2 separate regions of the Homo sapiens genome follow, and region 2 is linked to region 1. The links are contacts of gene promoters, found by promoter capture Hi-C in human tissues and cell types (Jung and others, 2019). All regions are on one chromosome and are shown on one strand. The core of a region is centred on a gene start or on the middle of the fragment in contact, and the rest is flanking DNA. Distances in the headings are between cores, read along the strand shown. Region 1 holds the start of CYTH4 (cytohesin 4). Region 2 overlaps ELFN2 (extracellular leucine rich repeat and fibronectin type III domain containing 2).

Region 1 (5,758 bases), core at 2,317-4,816:
GATCCCCTGCCTGGTACACAGGTGGGAACCAGAGCCTGATGTAGCGCAGAAGGACTGATCTCAGGCCAGAAAGTTTTAAGGGGATTCCTTCCCGTTTTCATCCTTCCTCCTACCTGGAATTTAGACATGATAGCTGGAGATCAAGCAGCCACTTTGGACCATGAAGAGAATTTGAGGACAGCAGCCGAAAGTTAGAAGGATCCTGGATCCATGCCCAGGCTGCTACAGGGCAGCCATGTGTTGCCCACTTCAGGTTTCTTTCTTGTAAGAGATCAATAAACCTCTAGTTTCTTTAAACCATTATTATTATTTGGGTTTTCTGTTTCATGTAGGCAAACCTAACCTGAACTGTCTCCATTTTGTAGATGATTTTAAATGATTAAAAATGAGGCTCGGAGGGGAAGGAAGAAGATCACACAGCTCACAAGAGCTGAGTCAGGATTCAAATCCAGTTCTCTGTGACTCCCCTGGGTCCAGCTTCCTGCTCTCCTCATTGCCTGTGCTATTGGTTCCCAGCAAATCTTGCAGCCAAACCTGGACAAGGAGTGACGGAGAAAATGATGAAGTCAGTTCTGCTAAACTCTTTGCTGCTCACAGTGAAAGAGTCCCTCCCTCCCAGGCTGTCTGCATATAAGCCGTTAAACATGACCAGCGTTGTGGGAAAGAGGGAGGGGAGGTGTCATCACAACGGACCTCACAGAGGAGGTGGTATTTGAGGTATGTCTTAGAGAATAAGACAGTAACAATAGCTGAACCACACAACCGTGACCATCCATCAGACAAAAGGGAAGTGTCAGATGCCAAACCGTGGCCTGGTCAAGACACATTTACTGGATCAGCCGCAAGATCAGGCAGCCTTCCCCAAGGCCATCCCAGGTTCAGTGGTTTACTAGGTGGACTCCCAGGACTCAGCTCATGGTCATACTTACGGCTATGATCTATGGCAGTGAAAGGACTCAAAGCAGAATCCGCAAAGGCGCCGTGGCGAAGTCCAGAGGAAACCAGGGGCAGCTTCCAAGAGTCTGCTCCCAAAAGAGTCACACGGGACACGCTCAATTCCTCCAGCAACAAGTCGTGAAAGCACCTGTGAGATGGGATGCTGCCAGGGACGCTAGGCAAATAGGTTAGGCCCAGTAAGCCACTCTCATCAGTTAGGGTGGTGGGAGCCCTCCCCAAATCCAAGCTCCCAGGTGCCAGCCAAGGGTCAACTTTGCAAGCATGACTTTCTAAAGATAGCAGTCTCCGGCCTGCAGTGTGAAGTCTTTCTGCACAGGGAATTATATATACCTTTCTCCATATTTCTAGGGGTTATTTTGTTTGTTTTGTTTTTTCTTTTGTTTTGTTTTTGGAGACGGAGTCTCACTCTGTTGCCAGGCTGGAGTGCAGTGGCGCGATCTCAGCTCACTGCAACCTCCGACTCTCTGGTTCAAGTGATTCTCCCGCTTCAGCCTCCCAAGTAGCTGGCATTATAGGCACCCGCCACCATGCCCAGCTAATTTTTGTATTTTTAGTATAGACGGGGTTTCACCACGTTGGCCAGGATGGTCTTGATCTCCTGACCTTGTGATCCACCCGCCTCGGCCTCCCAAAGTGCTGGGATTACAGGCATGAGCCACTATGCCCAGCCCACATTTCTAGTTTTAAAATGGCCAAGGGCATGGTTTGTGGTGCCTCAGGCCCAAAGCAGTTGAGAAAAATCTAGTTTACCATGGAAATAATTGTAACAAGTTTTCCAGAAAAGAACCATGAGTTATACAAGAACCCAGGTGGAGGCAGGGCAGGGGAGAAGCAGCGGGGTTCAAAAATCCTGAGCACACTAGACGGGGACTTAGTAGGCCTGGCTTCTGGGCCTGAATTGGCACTCACTCAAGTTCCAACTTGGTCAAGTGTTTCCCAGAAATAAGCCTCAGTTTTCTCTCCGAGGAAATGACAGCATTGGATTTCTTCTGTATCAGCAAGCTTTGGCTGCATAACAAAGCATCCCAGAAGTTGGTGGCTTAAACCACAAAAATGTATTATTTCCCACAGTGCTATGGGTCAGCAGTTTGGGTGGGACTCCGCTTGATGGTTCTTCTTCTGGTGTCCCCTGGCCTCACTGATGAGGCAGCAACCAGGGGACAGCCAAGACAGCCCAGCCTATCTCCTTGTGGTCCTCCGTCTTCCAACAGGCTAGCCCAGGCTTGTTCTCATGGTAGCCAGGCAGGGGGCTGAGAGCAAGAGCAGGAGCTGCAAGGCCTTTTAAAGCTCAGCCTCGAACATCACGGCACATCATTTCTGCCACGTGCTATTGGTCAAAGAGATGCCCAAGGCCAGCTCAGCTTCCAAGGAAGGAGAAATGGACTTCGCCCCTTGACAGCAGAAGCGGCGGCATAGTGAAAAGGAGGTGAACTTGTAGCTAGCTTTCACATCGGCCGTGATCTCTTCCATGTTCCCTTCATTCATTCATTCATTCATTCATTTGTTCATTCATTCCACACTTGCACACCCTCTATGTCCCCAGCATTTTACCACACACCAGAACACAAAAGGTAACCTTGCCCTCATGGGGCCTGGAGAGTAATGGGGAAACAGATGAATAACTCTGCATGTGTCCTGAAGTTATAGGGAATTCACATTTAATTTATACCTGTTTCTTTACAGCAAAGCTTTTTGCAGAAAGGATTTGAACCAACCTGCCAGAAAAGGCACAAGGAATAACATGATACATTTTAACCAAAGAAGATAATTAAAATCAAAGGAGAAAGTGTTTATTGAGCACCTACTATGTCCCAAGCATCTCCGACACATCCTCTCACTCCATGGTTTCCATATCCCCGAGTTAGTGTTATTCCCCTTTCAGAGATAAGCAAAGCGAGGCTGACTAGCCCTAGCTGAGAGTCAAACAGCTGAGTCAGGCCCCAAAGTTCACATGACATCATAGAATAGCTGTCGATGAGCTTTGGATTTGACGATGAGTTTCCCAGCAGCCTGGGGGAGAAGGAAAGTGGAACATATTACCCGATTGTTCACTAGACAAGAAAAAGCCAGATATTTCTTTGAAGGGAAGCAAAGCCCTTCCTAGCAGTGAATTCATTTGTCTCTTCTCAAGTGGGAGTTGGAAGAGAGCTTGTGGGGTGGAACACAGGGGGCCCTGCTAGGACTGTCCAAGTTGGGCGCTCCTATGGCATATATGTGAGGAGGCTGCCACGTGAATGCCCATGGTCCCCTGGAAAATGTTCGTCCTCAGTGAACATCGCCCTCGGTGTCTGTGCATGTGTACGTGTGTATGTGCATATGTGTCTGTGTGTTTCTTTCTGTCTCACTGTCTTTCTCTTTTTTATCTGGCCCTCCCCTCACTTCATCTGTTTGTTTGTTTGTTTGTTTGTTTGTTTCCACCTCTGTCCCTCCCTGGCAAAAGTCCCTGCTGCTCAAAACTCTGCCAGTTTTTAGGAAGTGCTGTTTTGTCAAAAGCCTGCACACGAGACCCCCGTGGGCCAGGACTGACTTCCTCCCCACACAGGGCTGGGCGGGGCAAGCAGGAAGGAGCCTGTTACAGTCAAGGTGACGCATCCTTGCCGGGCCAGCCCGAACAGCAGCTGGGTCGGCAAGCGACAGGAGCACGGGTCATCTTTTCCCCAGAGGCGTCGGAATGGACCTGTGCCACCCAGGTAAGCAACTGCCGTCAACCTCTCTGGGCCTCAGGGTGCTCTCTTTTAGAATGGGACAGCAGCCCCTGCCTCACAGGGTCCTAGATAAAGGAATACAGCGCAGGTGGGAAATGCAGCTGCAAGAAGCAAACATTTGTGGGCTCAGCCTGTGTGTCCAGTTGCGTTCTAGGGGCTGGACACACAGCAGTAGCAAAGCAGACGCTGTTTCCCCCTTCATAGGCTTGTGCTCTAGATGAGGAGACCGGCAGTGACTCTAATGTGATTCCATATGTCAGTTGATGGCAGGTAGGATGAAGAACAGTAAAGCAGGGTAAGGAAGACAGGAATGCATGGTGGAAAAGGCCCCAAGAGGAGATGCTGTCTGATGAGGGACCTGAGGAAGATGTCAGCTAAGGGGCTTTCTAAGGAACAAACATTCCAGCCAGAAGGAACAGCCAGTCCAAAGGCTCAGAGGTGGACTCAGAAAAGTGACTTGCGATTAAGATGATGATGGGATGTTGGTGATGGCGATGCTTGTCTGGGTGATACAAGGGCCTTGAGGCCCCTTTTTGGCCCCCGGGGGTTGGGGTGGTCTTTGGGGAGGCTGAGGACGCTGCCTAGAGCCAGGGGAGGGCCAGGAGTGAGCAACAGAGGCTCTGGTTGAAACCCTCCCCAGCTACTAAGACAATGTGTCTGGGGAGAAAGAGGAGAAAGGAGGCTGCAAAGATGGTGAGGAAAAGAACATCAGGGTCGTGTTTTGGGAGGCAAATTGAAGGCCCGGTAGAGGGGCCAAGTTTCTGCACCCTGGATGTCAGCATGCTCCAGAGCTGCAACAGTTCTGGTGAACACGGCTGCTGGAATTCCAGAACCTAAGGGCTCGTGGGAGCTGTCTGCTCCCCAGGTCCAGATGACCTCAGCCTTGTCCAGGAGCACCCTTGCTTCAAACGCACCTAATGTGGAGCAGCCTGGCCCCGCCCACTGGGCATCCCCCTTCCTCCCCACCCCCAGATGGAAGCCTCGGGCCCCAGGGAACCCAGAGAACCACTGATCCATTTCAACAGCCCCCCCAGTGGCAGAAGGGAGAAAAGAGGCCAAGGGAGGAAAACAGCCTCTCTAAGGCAGGAGCAGGACCAAATCCTGTTCCCTGAATCCCTATCCAGGGCTCACTCTGACCCCTGCCTCTCCCATGGGCTTTGGGGGCTCCCAAAATCACAGCTCAGTGAGCACAGCTTGGGGGCACCTGGTTGGCACAGGGAGACCCAGCGAAGGGCAGCACCTGGCTCAGGCCTCTCAGCAGACATGAGGGTGGGATGAGGGGGGGAGGGCACCCACCGAGATGCAACCCCCCTGCCTGTGTGTCCAGCAGGGCGCTTTGTCCTTTCGGGTCCTAACATACTGAGGTTACAGGGATGGCTGTCTCCATGTTGCAGATAAGGAAACTGAGGCTCCCAGAGGTGAACTAGAGACGGGGACTGACTTGCTTGAGGTCACACGGCCAGTCAGCAGCAGAGCAGGGACGAGAACCTGCGGGAGAGAGCCCCAGGTTGGCCGGGGCTATGGAGAGGGCAGGGGAGGGGAGTCTCTGCTTTGCTTCAGCCGGTACTAGGGAGGAAATGGATTAAATGGGGTCAATGGGTTCTCCATCGAGTAGTTGGTCTTTTCATTCATTCACTCTACAAACGACCTTCCAGTGTGCTATGCAGTGCTGGGGACAGCAGTGACCCAGCCATGGGCCTAACCCTGGGGGACAGGTGTTGGTCTGGAATGTTGGGGGTGGGGTGGAGAGGCAGGAGCCACATCCTGCAGGACCCTGACCCAGCTGTGCAAATGGACACAGACCTACAGATGGGAGGAAGCAACTTTTCCCACTGGGGCAGAGGAGATCTGGGAAGACCTCCTTGAGGAGGAGGCCAGAGGGAGGGAGAAAAGGTCATTTCCCTGTTGCCCAGACTGGGTCTTAAATGGGGCTTCTTCATGGCACGGTGACTTCCCCTCTCTGAGTTCTGATTTGTCATCTCTACGTGGGTGCCATCATCCTGGCCTGGCCTGGGGAAGCGGGGATTGGGAGTTAGCCGGACCTCGCTCAGGTTCCAGCTCTGCACCACCCTGCCAGTGGTCATGGTCTCTTCCTT
Region 2 (5,758 bases), core at 1,488-3,987, 110 kb after region 1:
GGCTAAAGCCAGACGTCCTCCTGAAGGTCAAGGCCCCTCAGGGGCCTGGCCCGGCCGCCTGTTCCAGGCTCCCTCCCGCCCTCCTCCCGGGCAGCCTCACCTCTCCCAGGATGACTCCTTGGTGAGTGTCCAGCCCCCGTGGACCGTCAGGGGGCCGCAGTGGCCAGCACCGTGAGTCCTCCCCCGCAGCTCCCGCCCCGGCACACAGTAGGCAGAGCGATCCCGCAGCTTAAAGGAATGCCCCCATCGAGTGCAGACAGCAATTTCATCCTACGGGCCGTGGTGACTGTCAACAGTGCCTCATACGCTGTAAATGAAGAACTCTTCACTCCTCGCCTGGGACTGAGCACTGGGTTGGCTGCCGCAAACTCAACACCAACCCCCGACCTTACAGGGTGTCAAGATAAAGATCGTCAGGCCAGGCGCAATGGCTCACGCCTGTAATCCCAACACTTTAGGAGGCCGAGGCGGGCGGATCACGAGGTCAGGAGTTCGAGACCAGCCTGGCCAACATAGCGAAACCCCGTCTCTACTAAAAATACAAAAATTAGCTGGGAAAGGGGGCACACGCCTGTAGTCCCAGCTACTCGGGAGGCTGAGAGGCAGGAGAATCACTTGAACCCAGGAGGCAGAGGTTGCAGTGGGCCAAGATCACGCCACTGCACTCCAGCCTGGGTGACAGAGTGAGACTCTGTCTCAAAAATAAATAAATAAATAAATAAATAAATAAATAAATAAATAAATATTGTTGGATTAATTTCTCAGATGAGAAAACGGAGGCTCAGAAAGACAAAGTGGCCTCACAGCGTCACAGCTGGTAAGTGGTGAGGCTGGGATTCAAACCTGGCTCTGCCTGTGCCTGGTTCCAGCACCAGAAGAAACGTCCTAGAAGTAGTCAAGGAGCATCAATCGAGTGCCGACCACACGCCAGACCCAAGTAGGCATTTACATCAATCACTTCATGAAAACCCCTCCACGGCCCTGGGAGACGGGCACTGTTATTCTACCCATCTGAGACACGAGGGATCAGGCCCAGAGCAGTGAAGCCACTTCCCAAAGGCACACAGCTAAGAAGTGGCAGGGCCTGAGACACACCAAGGTGTTGTCCCCTCTAGCTCTGCCCAGATCTCCTTCCCAGCCTCCTCTGCTGTCAGGGGCACTCTAGGGAGAGAGGCACCCCTTGGCTGGCTCTGTGGCAGCCAGGAGCTGAGCAAAGTCCTTCTCTACCTGGGCCTTGGCTTCCTCACCCACGGGGGGCAGGGGATGTGGACAAGACAACCTGGGGGTCCTGTCAGCACTGGCACAATATCCGTGCACCCAGGGGCCCACCACACACCAGGTCCTGGGCTTGGCACCGTGGGCTGCAAAGACCTGCAAAACTAGTGTCTGGCGTGCAGGGCATCACCAAGGGAGGCCCAGGGTGGGAGGGGCAGGGAGCCACCTGTTCAGGGCTCAGGGGACAAGCAGGGTGCAGGTCCCTGTCTGCTGTCAGCACAAGCACCACAGACCCAACAGGAAGCCAGAAGAAGGGTCACGGACACAGCTGAGCCCCCAGATACCCGAAGCTGGTGGTTAAGTGGGAGGCTCAGCACCTCTGAGGACCCGCTACCACCGGAGGGCTGGAGACCCCCGGAAGGGGCTGCATCCAGCTAACCAGACATTCCACATCCGATGAGCACCTAGCCTAGGATTTCAGGCACACCGTGGAAAACACAAAGACAAGCCAGGAACTCACAGACGGACAAATGCGCCAGAGACTTTGCTATTTAAAGAAAGCTTCCTGTGAATTATTTTATAAACTAAGTATCAGCCTCCAATTCCCCATCAAAAGCTTGAATTTTCAGATTGGGTTTGCTGAAAGTGAGCTAACACTCCTGGCTTTCTAGGTGCTTCTGTATTGCACACCCCAAGGGTGGGACGAGGGCTGTGTCCCCACCATGTCCCCGGCCCCCAACATGGGGCCAGCGTGCAGAAGAGGCTCAGCAAATGCTGCAGAAGCCAACTCTGTTAGCGCACTCATTTCCAAACCCCAGGAGCAGAGCTGCTTGGGTGCCAGGATCCCCCAGCGGGCACACCTTGTGCCATCTACTTTCAGACCCTCTGGGGCACTTTGAAGGAGGTCAGAGCTGGCAGATCCCTTAGCACTACCCAGGCCCCTGTCATGCAGCAGGTGAGGAAACTGAACCCAGAGAGGACAAGAGCCTTGAGCCCTACGGCCTCCCAGCCACGCCCCCTTCCCTTCCAGGCGCCCCCTTCCTGCCCCGACCCACTAACCACTGCTGCTCCTCCAGGCTCTGTCCTTGGCCTGTGGCACCCTCGTCTGCCCTCTCCTCCAGGGTGGCTTCATGCATGCCCCTGGCTGCTCAGATCGCGCTCGGTCATGGTCACCACTGCCTGCCTGCTTGCTCAGGCCCAGATCCCAGCTTTCCCGTCAACTCCTGCCTCTCCCACTGGAAGATGAAGATCAGACCAGCCTCCAAGTCCATGCCAGGACAGGCCACTATCATCACTTGCCTATCACTCACAGGGATCTCCTTTTTTTCCAGGCAGAGGGAGGCTTCCGGAGGGCAGCTCTGATGCTGTCTCTCCTGCTCAAAATCTTTCTAGGGCTCCCTGCAGCCCCAGGGCTAGAGCCTAAGCTCCTTCTTGGTGGGTGACCACCAACACGGTGAACTCCTACCAGCTTCAGCTCGGGCATCACCGCCTCCAGGAAGCCTTCCTTGAATCCCTGGTCTGGCTTCACCACTCCACTCCACAGCACCCCCATGCTCACCAGCTCCAAGTGGCATCCCACTGAAGGGTCACTGTGTCCCCTCCAGAGGGCCAGGAAGCACGGCGTGCCCCTCTGTGCCCCCTCAGTGCCCCCAGTGAGAAGCCTGGCATGGAGAAGGCACCCAGGGAGTGAAAATTGAAAACACAAAAGAACAACATAGGCCCCCAGGCATGTAATTCCCAGCTGGCATCCGTCTCCACTCGCTCACCCCCACCCACGCTGAGTGTGCCCATTATTATGACTGATGACAGCCAGGCCTCCCAGCTCCTTCTGGCTGCTGTGACCATCAGGAAGCCGTCCAGTACGATGGCTCCCATGCTGGCCCTGCCCACAGGACAGTCTGGTCAGACGGGTGCAGAGGGACAGGGAAAGGAGGGGGAACGTGGACAGAGCCCCTGCTGGAAGCCTCGCCTAGACCCCAAGGTCAGCTGACTCTGCTGGCCTTGTGGGAGCCCCGCGTGACCTTCTTATGTGGGGACGTGGGGCTCTCACTTCCAAATGAGGAAACTGAGGCTCCAAGAGCAAGCAGCCGACCTGAACCCAGAGATCGGCATTGGTCTCCTGCCCACTTCTTCTTACATTGGATCCAGGAGCTTCCTAAGCACAAGGAGGGGAACGAGCTACCGGGCTGGGCATTTTACAGGCGTTCTGGGAGGCTGTGGGCACCCGGGAAAGAACACCAAGTCTGGGGTCCTCATAACCTGGACTCAGACCCTTGCTCGGTTCCCCTCAGCTGTGTGGCCTCGGCAGCCCGCGCAGCTTCTCTGAGCGGACGTCTGCACTGGTCCCTGGGGGTGCGAGGCTGCCCTGCAGGGTTGCTGTGTCAAATGAGACGGTAAGGACACAGCCAATAACAGCCGAACATCTTCCAGGCCACGCTGCGGGTGGATTATTGCATCTAATCCTCACAGTGACTCTGGGAGGCTGAGTCTAACAGGGTCCCCATTTGATAGACAATGAAGGTGCCAGGGTCAAACGCCTTACCCAGAGCCAGGCAGCTGTGGGCGGTGGAGCTAGCGCTCAGGCCTGGGTAGACCGTGCCGGGCACATGGAGGGCCTCACTAAACAACATTATTTTTTGACTCCAACCTGCCCTTTATTCCTCAAAGGCCCCTGAATATACTGGCCTCCAGCCTGGCCTCTCCCTCCTGCAAGCCTTCGTAGGGACTGTTCCAGCCACCTGCCGTGCCTCTCCTTCCACTTCCAGAAAGCAAACCTCTCACCCTTTACATTCTCATCAAATGCTACCTCTTCCACTGAGCCGCCCTGGGCTCCACCACCCCACTCCTGTCCGGCCCCTTCCCCCTACCCCAGTAAAGCCCCCCAGCACAGCAGTCTCCTAACTGACTGTCGCCTACCCTGCCTCAGCCCATCCTCTGCACAGCAGCCCAAGGAAGCCTCCCGCAGCGCACTCACATCGCCGCCCTGCTCTAAAGCCTCTGGCGCCTCCCCAGCTCCTCTGCTCCACAGTTTAGGCCCCTCATGATCTGGCTTGGCTCTGTCTCTGCAATGTGCCCTCCAATACCATCAAGACAAACTGCTCCCCGCTTCACACACGCAGGCGTGCACACACACGCATCTACACATGTCATGTGTGCACACATGTGCACACATGTACACCTCTCCAGCTGGTGCGGGATCTCCTAGGCTCCTCCCTTGCTTGGGCCTCTACTTCCACTCCTGCCTTACCCACCTTCCCACCTCCAGCCCAACCCCAGAACAGCACCTCCAAGAAACACCCCCTGTAATTCCTCAGCTCCCCTACCAGCTCCTTCCTGGAACACAGCATCCACCTGGCCTGTTCCCAAACACATACATGCTCCCTGCTGCTGGAAGACACAGCGTCCAGCCTTTTCCTGGCCCGGAGGGAGCTCAGGGGCCTCTGGTGTCCTCCCCAGACTCCTGGATCCTCCCTCCCCACTCCCAGGGATGGGCACGTGAGCTTCTTACCCCTCTCTGAACTCGGAGAGGCTTTTTGCAGCTCTTGGCCTTTCCCCTTGAGATTCCCCGGCCTGGAGTACCCTCCTGTCCCATCCCCGCCCAGTGAGTGCTACTTCTCAGGCAGGACTCAAAGCTGCCTCCTACAGGAAGCCTTCCAGCCCACCAGGCCTCAGCCACCCTGTAAGGACTGGCTGGCAAGTCTGCCCCTGTGTGGGCTTCCTGAGGGCAGGGACTCTTTTCATGCCCAGGCCCATACTGGCTCCTTGAGAACTGTCTGCTGAGGAAACATGCTCCCTCCTGTGCCACCCCTGAGTGCCTGGAGGCACAGCAAGCAAGTTGATCAGACCACGGAGACCACCGGCCCACCTCTCCCACCTCCACCGACCACGGGGACCACCAGCCCACCTCTCCCACCTCCACCGACCACGGGGACCACCGGCCCACCTCTCCCACCTCCACCGACCACGGGGACCACCAGCCCACCTCTCCCACCTCCACCGACCACGGGGACCACCAGCCCACCTCTCCCACCTCCACCGACCACGGGGACCATCAGCCCACCTCTCCCACCCCCACTGAGCCCCCTGCGTCGCACACCTGGGCCACCGGCCTCTGCCCTCACCGGCTGCTGGCTCCCATGAGATTGGAATAGTATCCAAAATCTTCCCAGACTTCACTTCTTCACCTCCCACCTCACTCACTTGCTCCAGCCACCACCTCCCCGCCATGGCCGCCTTGCTCCTCCTGGTAAATGAAAGAAGGAAGGGCTTGCAGAGCTTGACCACGTGCTTCCTCAGCACCCACTGAACCCTCAAACCAGCATCATTCGCAAAGGACAGAGGAGGAAACTGAGGCACAGAGAAGGGAAACAACTGCCCAAAGCCAGGCTGCTGCAGGGTGAGGCCTGCAACCACCCCCTCCCTGCCTCCAAAGGCCAAGCCCTCCACGTCCCCAGCCCATGCAGCAGGTCCCTAGGAAACCGGGAGGGGCAAGGGAGTGCAAGGGAGAAGAATGTAAGGAAAGGCGGGGTTATTATCCTCCCAG

What was found. The method cuts DNA at HindIII sites, captures the fragments that hold promoters and counts their contacts. A contact is called where the count stands out against the background at its distance.
Region 2: a fragment that was not itself captured here is called in contact with the fragment with the promoter of CYTH4 in region 1 in 3 of the 25 tissues and cell types used here (H1 embryonic stem cells, IMR-90 fibroblasts and adrenal gland).

The regions. Positions count from the first base shown.
Region 1 is chr22:37,278,942-37,284,699 of GRCh38, forward strand. It overlaps CYTH4 (cytohesin 4), which reads left to right and starts at 3,567. Exons shown (of 13, transcript NM_013385.5): 1 at 3,567-3,647. The coding sequence starts at 3,629. RefSeq lists enhancers at 3,326-3,375, 4,922-4,971, 5,584-5,693. The HindIII fragment of the contact is 18,046 bases long and covers 2,303-5,758 here.
Region 2 is chr22:37,394,407-37,400,164 of GRCh38, forward strand. The region is part of intron 2 of ELFN2 (extracellular leucine rich repeat and fibronectin type III domain containing 2); the gene reads right to left. Among named protein-coding and RNA genes, the nearest start is that of ELFN2, 30 kb to the right of the region's middle. The HindIII fragment of the contact is 3,845 bases long and covers 816-4,660 here.